Linked DNA regions of Homo sapiens: region 1 is linked to region 2. The links are contacts of gene promoters, found by promoter capture Hi-C in blood cells and fetal thymus (Javierre and others, 2016). All regions are on one chromosome and are shown on one strand. Each heading gives the region's core, a stretch centred on a gene start or on the middle of the fragment in contact. The rest is flanking DNA. Distances are from core to core; before and after follow the strand shown.

Region 1 (5,167 bases), core at 275-2,774, 460 kb before region 2:
TTCTCCTGTGAAGGAAGGGGGCTGAGCTTCGCTGCAGACCTGGCCTCAGGTGTGGATGAGCTTCGCTGCAGACCTGGCCTCAGGTGCGGAGTCTGCGGGAGCAGCATTTCCAGGCAGACCTGACAGAAGGTGCCTTTGAGAGGTGGTGAGCTCCGTGTTACAGGAGGCTTGTGAGCACAGGTAGCCCATCTTCTGGTGATGATGCTGGAGAAGCAATTCAAATGTCAGAAGCAGGACTGGACTCTGTTTCCAAAACTCACGTCTGGATTCTACCCCCTGAAAACATTATTTACACAATGTTTTTCCTTTAAACAATTCACACATTTGATTAAAAGGGTAAGTTTATTTTTTAAAAAGTCAGTGTCAATTACCACAAAGAGGTCACCATAAAAATAGATAAAAAGAAACAAAATGGCATTAAATTCTAGCCAAATATTGCTGCCTGTGGAGGGCTCCCGGCCTGAGACCCGCCTCAGACCCCACCAGGCATTCTTTGGGATTCCTGCATAGGCACCATTGGAAAGGTAAATCCAGAGCAAACATTTCAGGTACATTCGTGCAAAATGCAGGCCCTCAGTCCTGTCCTCAAAGGCAAATGCTGGTGCCCAGGCTCCTCAAGAGGCCCCTAGGAGCACCAGGAGGCCTTGACCCAGGTGAAGGGTCCTGCCGCAGGCCATCAAGGGGGTCTGCAGGTCTGGCCCAACTCCAGGCCCTGCGTGGTGGGGTCCATCTGCACCAGCTTTCGGGAGCCGACTGTGTCCTTACTCTTGCCCTAGAGGACTCGGGGGTCAGCTACAGAGCACAGCAGTGTCTTGGAACAAGGGCAGCCTGATTATGTGCCCTGGAACATTCTGAACTCAATAAGTTCTATCCCAGCAGGGCTTTTTTTCTTTCTTTTCTTTTTTTTTTTTCTTTTTTGAGAGGAAATAATTAAAAGAAAAAGAAAGCGAGAACCCCCTGGCTCCCCTGTGGCCTTGCAGGGTCGTACTGCTGCCTGTCCGGGCGGCTTCAGGAGGCTCGGAACAGATGCTGCACATTTGTGGGCCACTTACTGTTCTCTGACATCATCTTTAGAGGCACCTCAAAGAGCTGAAATGTGACAGCCTGTATTTCCACCTCCCTCTCTCTTTATGGACATTGTCACTTGGAGGAAAATCGATCTAAAGATCAGAAGAGAAGTGTAGAGAGAGAAGAGAGAGAAACGCTGTCAGGTCAAGGGGCAGGTTAATGGCCAACCCAGAAACAGCGTGGGATCCCGGTGCCTCTGCCTGGAGGGTCCAGCCTGGAACACACATCATTCCTAGCTTTGACCAGGAATGGTATCCAAAAAATGACCTCACTTAGCTATTAGTACTTGATTGGGATAATACTTAAAATCCTGCTAATATTTCTGTGGTTGCTTCCATTCTGTAGTCATAGTTCATTTCTATTTTCTATGAATTTGGCGTATGTCTTAGCCAACTCATTTGAAACTGCCTGTCCTTCCTTGACTTATAAAAAAATGGCCATTTCAGCTTCGTGATAATGGGCAAGTCTCAGAAATGATGAAAACATCATTTAATTGTTTCATTATTTCAAAGTCTCAGGCTGTGGCCATGTGGTGGAGGCTCTAGAGAAAGTTTCTAAAAAATATTTTAAAAGTTACGACTGCACTGTTTTGCATGAGAAAGAGGATTTTGCTAAAGATTGAAGGCGATCGGGCTGCAGGCGAAATGTGGCTTGAAGTCCCCAGCTCCAGAGTGGCACGTTTCAGTCTGTTAAATGCTGTGTTCAGGTGAGGAGTTAGGATCATGGTACAACCCAGATGTGGGCTGGCGGCTGGCACACAGCTTAGCAAAGAAGAGACGCACAAGGCCAGAGTGGCCTTAGGAAAAACTCAGCCTGGAGTTGTCCAAATGTCCGCGATGGAGGAGTTTCATGGGGGAATTAAGATTGTCAGGTTAGGGAAGGGCACAGGTAGCTGGGAGGCTCTTTGGTAGCAAAATTCCATAGAAGATAAAAAGCATGTTCTCTCTTGGAAATCATCAGTCCATCCTGTCGGAGCCCCTTTGGAGCAGGGTGTGGCTGGAGGGCCTGGCTTGCTGGCCACGCCTCAGTCACAGCATTGGCTTTCCTGCGCTTCTGCTTCCTGCTCTTCCCGGTGATCTGCGTCCTGCGGGGCGCACAGCAAGCCCTCCGTGGGACGAAGATCTTCGTCTTCCATCCACGCTGCTTTGCTCACCTGCGACATGACCTGAGGCTCTGGCCCTGCTGAGCTGGGCCCTTGGCCAGTGCTGTACAAACGCCATCCACCATCTGGTGACAGCAGCCTAGCAATTGACCAACAGAGGCCTCCCACTGTCCTCCCTCCTGCCGCCCTCCCTCTGCATCTCCCAGAGCAGGACGACTCCAGGGAGACAGACTCAATTCAATCTTTTTCTGTTTCAGAGAATCTGTCACCATTAAAAGCAGCTACCAGGGAATCTGATTCCATTGCACCAGGTCTCAGGTCTCAGGTCTCAGGCGTTCTTCCAAAATGCTGGTGGATGGTGGGCTCTCGCCCTGGGATTATAGATGCCCAGATAAACCATATGTAAATAACACTGCATTTAACCCGCCGACAAAGGGTGGCCTTCTTGACGGTGGTGAAGGAAGTTTTGACCCAGGAGAACAGAGGTCGTCATTCACAAGCACTAGGGTCCGGTGAAAGCACAGGCTTCAGCGTCTGGACAGGCAGCTACATGACGGTATCATGTTCTCTTTAGAAGCCACCAACTGATTCCTGTGTGTTCAGAGCCTGCTGTTAGAGATTAGGTGTGGGGTAGAAAAAATTGGAATCTGGACTTCCCTGCCTGGCGAGATGGCCCTGAGCTCTGAGACATGACCTGAGGACACCTGGAGTGCCCTGAGTTCCAGGGGACACATAGCAGCCAAGTGGGGAAGAGGCCACTGAATGCCGGTGGCTCCGTGGCAAAGGCACATGGAGCTGTAGGAAGAGACATGCTGGGGCCCCCAGCACCTGGAGAGCAGCAGCCCTGTCCACACCTGGGGCCTTGGCTGCCCACAGCCTCTCTAGAAGGGTCATCTGAATTTCACTGGTGATCTGCTTGTGAGGTCTTCTGCATACACTCTTACTTACAAAGAGGCAAACGTCTGCCAGCCCAAGGGCTTCTGGAACTGCCTCGGTCTGCCTGGCTCCTGAGCCTCCCCGCGGGTCTGGGGGTGGAGGTGTTCACAGGGTTCACTTGGCTGAGACCTCACATTCTGGAAGGGCCTCGTGTTAGGTGAGTGATTATCTTAGCTTCCAATACAACTGTGCATGCAGTCCGGACCCGCCGAGGCACAGACCCATCAGGTCTTCTGCTAACTCTCATCCCGGCCCACCCAGCATGACTAGCAAGATTATATTGCATTGAGAGTGTTTACAGTAAAAGCGTTAAATGTAATCATTTACCTTGTTGGCGATTGTTTGCAGCCCTCTTTGAGCATTCATTCCCTCATGTTTCATTTGCTGAGACTTTGGCAAATGGAAGTGGGCAGTCCCTGTCCCCATCTCCAGGGCCCTGCCTTGGCACCTTCCCCACCAAGCTGACACCTCTGTGAGCTTCAGAGAAGCTAGAAGCTTTGGAGCTTTGTCCAAGGACATGGACACCCCATTGCAGCCTCACTCACTTGGGGGTGAAAGGAAGGTGACCTGCCCAGCCCTTTCAAAGTTCCCTGACAATGTGCAGAGCTCCCTGGCTGTGTGCAGAGCTCGCTGACCGTGTGCAGAGTTCCTGGCTGTGTGCAGAGATCCCTGATGGTGTGCAGAGTTCCTGGCCGTGTGCAGAGCTGGCTGACCATGTGCAGAGCTCCCTGGACGTGTGCAGAGATCCCTGGCCATGTGCAGAGCTCATTGTTGGGGGAAGTCAGGTGATAGAACCCAGAGGCACAAAAACAGGGATGCCCACAGGTCCCTGAGATTCCTTCTTGGGCGGTGTCTGCTGTCCCCAGGGTCCCGTGACCGTGGAAGGCACCATGACCATGTCCATCTTGTGCCAACCTGCTCTGCCCTGGAACATGTTGCCCAGGGCCTGGGTGGACTGTCAGAGCTAGTGAACGATATTTAAGCCTACACAGGGGCAAGGAATCTTCCAGAACTTTCTGTGTTTAGGTGCCACGCAGTCAGCATCCTGCAGGCAAGCCGGACCCTTTCCCACGTAGGAGACTCACAGAATTTTCATCTTCCCCATCACAAGGTAGAAATGGGCTTTTCTGGCTCACTGAGAGGCCTGGATGTTCTACTTAAACCCCAGGAACGTGGAGCTCTAGAGGAGATTAGAAGAGCCAGCTCAATTTCCTGACCCCAGATGGTTTGTTCCATCTGCAGGAAGGGGGTGGCTCCTGCGTACGGGGCCCAGGGCTGAGTCGGCGGCGCGTGCTGCACCTCCCTGGGGTGCCTTCCTGGGCTCTCTCATCCCCCGGCCACTCCTCTGGCTGGCGCTGGAGCCAGGCCTGCTGGGCCCCTTTGTGCCGTCACCCGTCACAGAGCCTCGATTCCCCCAGACATGCTCCCCGCAAATCCTTCCAGACGCTCTAGCCAAGCGGCTGAGGTTGTCAGAAAACCTGGGCACTCCCAGCGTCTGTGGGGCCACCTCCCCTCCCTACCCGCACTGCCCTCCCCTCCTCCGCTGCCCTCCTGGGCAGACGCCCACCCCGGCCCCTGAAGAGGCAGCCACATCCCCCTTTCCTTCCCAGGGCTTATCCTGTTCCCTGTCTTTCCATCCAAGCCCCCACACCAGGTCCCCCGTCCTAAAATGCCGTGAATTCAGTCTGTTCGCTCCATTCGCTCTGCTCCACTGAGGCACCCCTGGGAGAGCAGCTTCCTCTGGAAAAAGTGTCCCCTGCTTCTCAAGTCCTCACCCCACCGTCACCTACTCCGCCTCGGCAGCCTTCAGGGCAGGCCTAGCCCCGGCCACACCCTGGCTTCTGTGGCCGTCTGTGTCCTGCACAGCCCCCGGTCATGTCTGCAGCGAGGCATTCTCCACGTTCTGGGCTCAGAGAATCCCATGCCCCAGCCCCTCCTCAGGTCCAGCCCCATCTGCAGCCTTCCCCCTGCTGCCTGCAGGCGCCCTCCTCTTCCCCCACGGGCTGCGGGCTTCGGGCTGCGGGCTGCGGGCTGCGGGTGGACTGTGGGCTCTGTCTCTCC
Region 2 (5,330 bases), core at 95-2,594:
TTGGGTATGTTTTTGAGACAGAGTCTCGCTCTGTTGCCTAGGCTGGAGCAGAGTGGTGCGGTCTCGGCTCACTGCAACCTCCACCTCCCAGGTTCAAGCGATTCTCCTGCCTCAGCCTCCCCAGTAGCTGGGATTACAGGCGCCTGCCACCACGCCCGGCTACTTTTTTGTATTTTTAGTAGAGATGGGGTTTCACCATGTTGGCCAGGCTGGTCTTTAACTCCTGACCTCGTGATCTGCCCGCCTTGGCCTCCCAAAGTTCTGGGATTACAGGCGTGAGCCACCGCGCCCAGCGGAAACCTGATTCTTGACTTTACATTTTTTATGCCCATCTAAAGCAGTGGAGGCTGAGACTCACAGAGGTTCAGTCACTTGCCCAAAGTCACATAGTATCCTCTGGCCTCCCTGGCATGCTGCTGACACCTGCATTTTACGGCAGGAATCTTCTCACTGAGGTTCGCCTACACAGACTTCCCAAGGGACTAAGGCCAGGATAATTTCAAAGGAATCCATTTTCTGCCCAAGTTTCGCTACGTTCTCTCTGCTAAAACAGAACTGCCTGAGGACGAACCTGCGTTTAAAACAATTTGAATTCTCCTTTCCCGTCCCCCTTTTATAATGGGTCCTCCCCTTTACAAAAGAAAGGTATTTCTCTAGTGACACTGCCCAACAACCCCTCTAATTCCCACCTACAGGTCTGTGTGAACGCCGTTCCTCGGTATCCACAGCTACGAGAACGTAAATGGGAATAGAACGGGTAACCCGCTCTCACTGGGCAGAAGCCAGCCACGGACAGTGAATTATCTGGAAATGCGTCTCCCTGAGGCGCGTTTACAATACAAAACTTTATTGTTGTTTTATCATCCAAATGTGTATATATTTATGTTGTTTTGTGCAACTGTATACTGCCAATAATCACTTTAAAATGTTTAATACTTAGAGCGCTGGATCAAGGCAAATTCCTAACAACTTGACTCGGAACTCACACACGGCACCCATCCCGTGACAGAGCACCACCGGGGTGGCTGACAAGACTTCTGACCCCAAAACGCGGTTCTGCGGAGAGAGTGGGGCAGGACCGGGGAGCAAGGCGCCGCTCCCCACCGCCCGAGCGCTCGCTACTCCAGGGCCGCAGCGCTCGGTCCCGCCGGGGTTCGCAGCCCGGCAGCCCTCCAGGCCTCTCAGCTCCTAGGCCGGGGCCTCTCCCGCTCCCAGCGCCCCGGTACCCCGCGGCCCAAGCCGAGGCCCCTCCTTGCGCCCGGGCCGCGACCACCCCCCAGGCCCACGCTCCCCGCTCCCCGCTCCCGCACTCACCGGCTCGGGAAAGCACGTCACTTCCGGAGCGTCGCAAGCGGCCGACCACTTCCGGGGCCTTTTGGCTCCGGAAGCCCAAGGCTTGCCCAGTGCGCAGGTGCAGAAAACACGCCGACGGACCGAGAGGCGACCTTGTCCCTGGTAGCGGAAGCAGGAGCAACGGCAGGAGGGATGCGGAGCGCTCAGCTGCAGCCGCGCTTCTCGCCGGCGCCCTCGCTGCCCGAGCACAAGGACAGCCGCCCCGCCCGTTCCACCCGGTGCCCAAGGTCCCCCAGCTTCTCTGACCCCTCCGGCGTTTGCGGAACCTCCCGGGTCTGACGAGGACACCGCCGTTGCCCGAGGAGGCTACGGGGCAACGCAGAGCAGGCAGTGGGGACCGCAGGGCAGCCCCGGGGCGCCGTCCCCACCGCCCTTACCCTGGCTTCGCCTTGCCGCCGCGGGGAATCCGGTGCGGACGCACGCGAACTCTGCCCGGGAGCCGAGGTGACGATCTACCTGGTCTCGGTAATAAGTATTTGCAAAACACATCACACCAAAATCCCGTTAACTTCATGAAAACTCACTTTATAGGATGATTTTTGAAGAACCAGTTTATTAAGAGATTACACCAAAAGCATAAACAATTTATACGTCAAACTCCGACTGAAAAAAAAATAACCGATAAGGATGTTTTTTAAATGTACTGTACTCACAAATAACAAGACAAATTTGACCTGTTCAATAAATAGAAATGAAGTGGCTAAAAATGTTTAAATGGAAATGGAAAACAGTCGTCTTCTTTGTACAGTTTTGAAGGGGTGCCCCCTATTCACGCCTACACGTAGAAAAACCCTGACAAAATCAGAGGTTCACTTAACACTCCAACCATATGAGCGTATTAAGGTTTCTTTTCAGATCTTAGGAGATCTTGTCCACCTTAATCCCATTCACAGATCTTAGGAGATCTTGTCCACCTTAATCCCATCATAAAGACTGTTGGCATGAGTTCTGATGTACTGTTTTAATATGCTGAGTACTGTTGATTCAACAACAAACCTTAATGGGTGATGAGCTTTTGCATACCAATATGAATTTGTCAGCACTTCTGAAAACTGGCCATCATTTTTCAAATTCACAATTTGCTGGATGTCAGGGAACAATAGGAAGAAGAATGAGCGTCAATTTTCATGTCTTCCTTTGCTTCTTCACTGGCCTTCCATAGAAGTAGTCAGAAAAAAACAAAGCACCATCAACCACACTTCACAAACAATTCATGTTGGCCTAAGCTTTGCTCAACATTCATATGACAGAAGATAGAATAATGAAAAGGAACTGCTGGCATCACTTTCCCCATAATATTACATAAAAATGGACAGCACATTAAATAAACATTCTGTTATTAATCATTAAATATATTAACACCAAAAATCATGTATAAATTAGGAAATAAATGTACAAACTATTTTGCAAAGTGCTTTTTAAAATATATACACAACATTCAAGATATTCTTAATGTAAGACATTTCAGATTGAAGTTTTGGGGTAAGTGTCCTTTTCTTTCAGAAAGTATTATTAATACAGCACTTAAAAAAACACACAAACACACAAAAAAGGCATATTCCCAGATTGGCAAGGAATAAAAATAAACTATCTTCACAGTTATCTAAAATGTTTAACATTTTCAGTGGGAAATTTTAGTCCCCGATTGAGTTTGCAAATTAGGTCTATGAAAATTGACAGGAAAAGAACACAATCAAGGGAGATGACTCCCTAACTGAAATTGCTAACGCGTTTGTCAATTAGCAATTAAGAACTCTCATTTCGGTGATCGAATATGAACACATACGTTTATTTTTGAGCCCTTACCAGTGTTAAGGGTTTTAGAAACCCTTAGTGCCTACAAAATAAACACTTCTCTCCCCATTTGTGCGTGACATCCGTCTCCTAGGAGAGGGGAGAATGTCCTAGAACAGGACTGGTATTCAACACAGGCAAGTCCTTTAATCTGTGCCTCAGTTCTTCATCTCTAAAATGGGAACTGTTACCTGCCTCCAGATTTCCTCATAGGGGCTGTCAGAATTAATTCAAGCAAAACACATAAGTGACTTATAAATTCTAAAGCACCCGACTCTGGATAAAGAATTAATTTTAACTTATTTATTTATTTATTTATTTATTTTTTTGAGACGGAATTTCACTCTTGTTGCCTAGGCTCGGGTGCAATGGTGCGATCTTGCCCCACCACAACCTCTGTCTCCTGGGTTCAAGCCATTCTCCTGCCTCAGGTTCCCGAGTAGCTGGGATTACAGGTATGCACCACCATACCTGGCTAATTTTGTATTTTTAGTAGGGACGGGGTTTCTCCATGTTGGTCAGGCTGGTCTCGAACTCCCGACCTCAGGTGATCCGCCCGCTTCGGCCTCCCAAAGTGCTGGGATTACAGGCGTGAACCACCACGCCAAGAATTACTTTTAACTTTTAAAACAAAACATCAATTAAAGAGAAATATCGTTATTACTAGGCCTCATATATCAAGCATTGGATATCTCTTGTATTTTCTTGGTAGTTCTTGGAAATCTGTCAGCATTTATCCAAAGATTTTTTTAAAAGGATTCATAGCAAATATGAATATTATTATTCCAACTAAAGGTTGATCAAATGTCCATGCTACTTGTTAATTGAAATGTGGGATTTTTTTCCTTTGACCATACTTTTGCAAGTGTGCTGTCTTTAATGTTCACACAGAATTTAAATGGGATTTAATGTCTTAGAAATGTAAAAATTACTCAAGTTTCTCTATATAAAACCTTTACTTTTCATTAGAAAGAACACAGTAATGTAACTGGATGTGACTTTCAGACATCCCTAAAAGAAAAGAAATGCTTGCTTGGAGATCTGAGCAAGTAGGTCCTGGAAGAAATAATATAAAATAAACAACTTGCCAACTGTTGGGAAGATTTGGTTTGAATATTTAAAATTACCTATCAACTTAGAATTGGGCTTATTAAATATTCCAATCCCAGAAATGACCATCAGCTAAACAAGGGTCAAAGCCAGAGTAATCTCTGAGGGCCCACTTCCCAGAGAGCTGCCCCTTTCCTTCAGCAATACCGCTGGCCCTGGGTTAGGCAATTTGTCCACGGCCCTTAGGGATTCATATTTATTTGGAATACAGTCACTGATCCCTGTTTACTTTTTAATACAAAAACATGTACCTTTTTGGATAAACGGAATTGGCGAGAGACAGGCAATGGGCAAGCTCTGGAAGTGGCCATCTGTGGCCTCTCCCGTGGGAGATGTTTATCCTTTTCGTTACGTAACAGAAACTGACCCAACGCACAGAAGATGCCCTCCCACCCACCCCATCGAGGCACAGGAAGAGGCTGCCCTCCAGGGGCTGCATGTGTGTCCAGCTGTGGCGTAGCCAGTTAAAGAAAAGTTGACAACCCACACTACAACACTGCATGAGGAGGAAAATGAGACCTAACGTCTGTTGACGGGAACAGGTGGACTGTGGTGTCCTCGAGATCTGTCCTGTCCCTGGGCACAGAATGCTCTGATGACAAAATGACCCCCAAAGCTAGCTAGAAACATTGAGAAGGGGGCGGGGGACAAAAAAAGGATACCTCTCCGTGTACCGACATACAATACTATACACAGCACCAAAAGTATCACACCACCAAGCGCTGTCTCACGCCAGTGGTGTGCGCTCGGCGTCATACCCAGCATGAAATGAGCACGCTTCACATGCAGACGTGGCACTGGGCGAACAGGTAACCAACATGTCACAATTCACCAGAGCTGCCGCCAGCCCATCCGGCCCCTGGATGAACACGCTACCACAAGGGCTCCAGCCAGAATGTGTGTCCCTTACTGCTGGTAATTTCCATACTGGCCCTAAAAGAGATCAAGACACAGATTACACCCCTATAGTAATGAGTGAAAGGAAGACAGACGTCCACCCCAGCCCGGACAGGGGGTAGGAGGGACAACAGCAAGCAAACAACCTCTGCTCACATCTCTGCGGGGCAGCGAAC

What was found. Contacts are between HindIII fragments. The CHiCAGO score rates a contact against its expected background, and 5 or more counts as called.
Region 1: a contact is called between a fragment that was not itself captured here and the fragment with the promoter of MTG2 in region 2, in 2 of 17 cell types (erythroblasts and neutrophils). The highest score is 6.1, in erythroblasts.

Annotation. Positions count from the first base shown.
Region 1 is chr20:62,635,903-62,641,069 of GRCh38, reverse strand. LOC124904949 (a long non-coding RNA gene) reads left to right here. Exons shown (of 2, transcript XR_007067711.1): 2 at 1-3,425. It overlaps LOC124904948 (a long non-coding RNA gene), which reads left to right and starts at 5,156. Exons shown (of 2, transcript XR_007067710.1): 1 at 5,156-5,167. RefSeq lists enhancers at 4,574-5,073, 5,074-5,167. The HindIII fragment of the contact is 4,159 bases long and covers 1-3,603 here.
Region 2 is chr20:62,179,042-62,184,371 of GRCh38, reverse strand. MTG2 (mitochondrial ribosome associated GTPase 2) reads right to left here and starts at 1,344. Exons shown (of 7, transcript NM_015666.4): 1 at 1,315-1,344. It overlaps SS18L1 (SS18L1 subunit of BAF chromatin remodeling complex), which reads right to left. Exons shown (of 11, transcript NM_198935.3): 11 at 1,858-5,190. The coding sequence ends at 5,164. RefSeq lists silencers at 1,126-1,295, 1,302-1,486, 1,526-1,715. The HindIII fragment of the contact is 5,602 bases long and covers 1-2,581 here.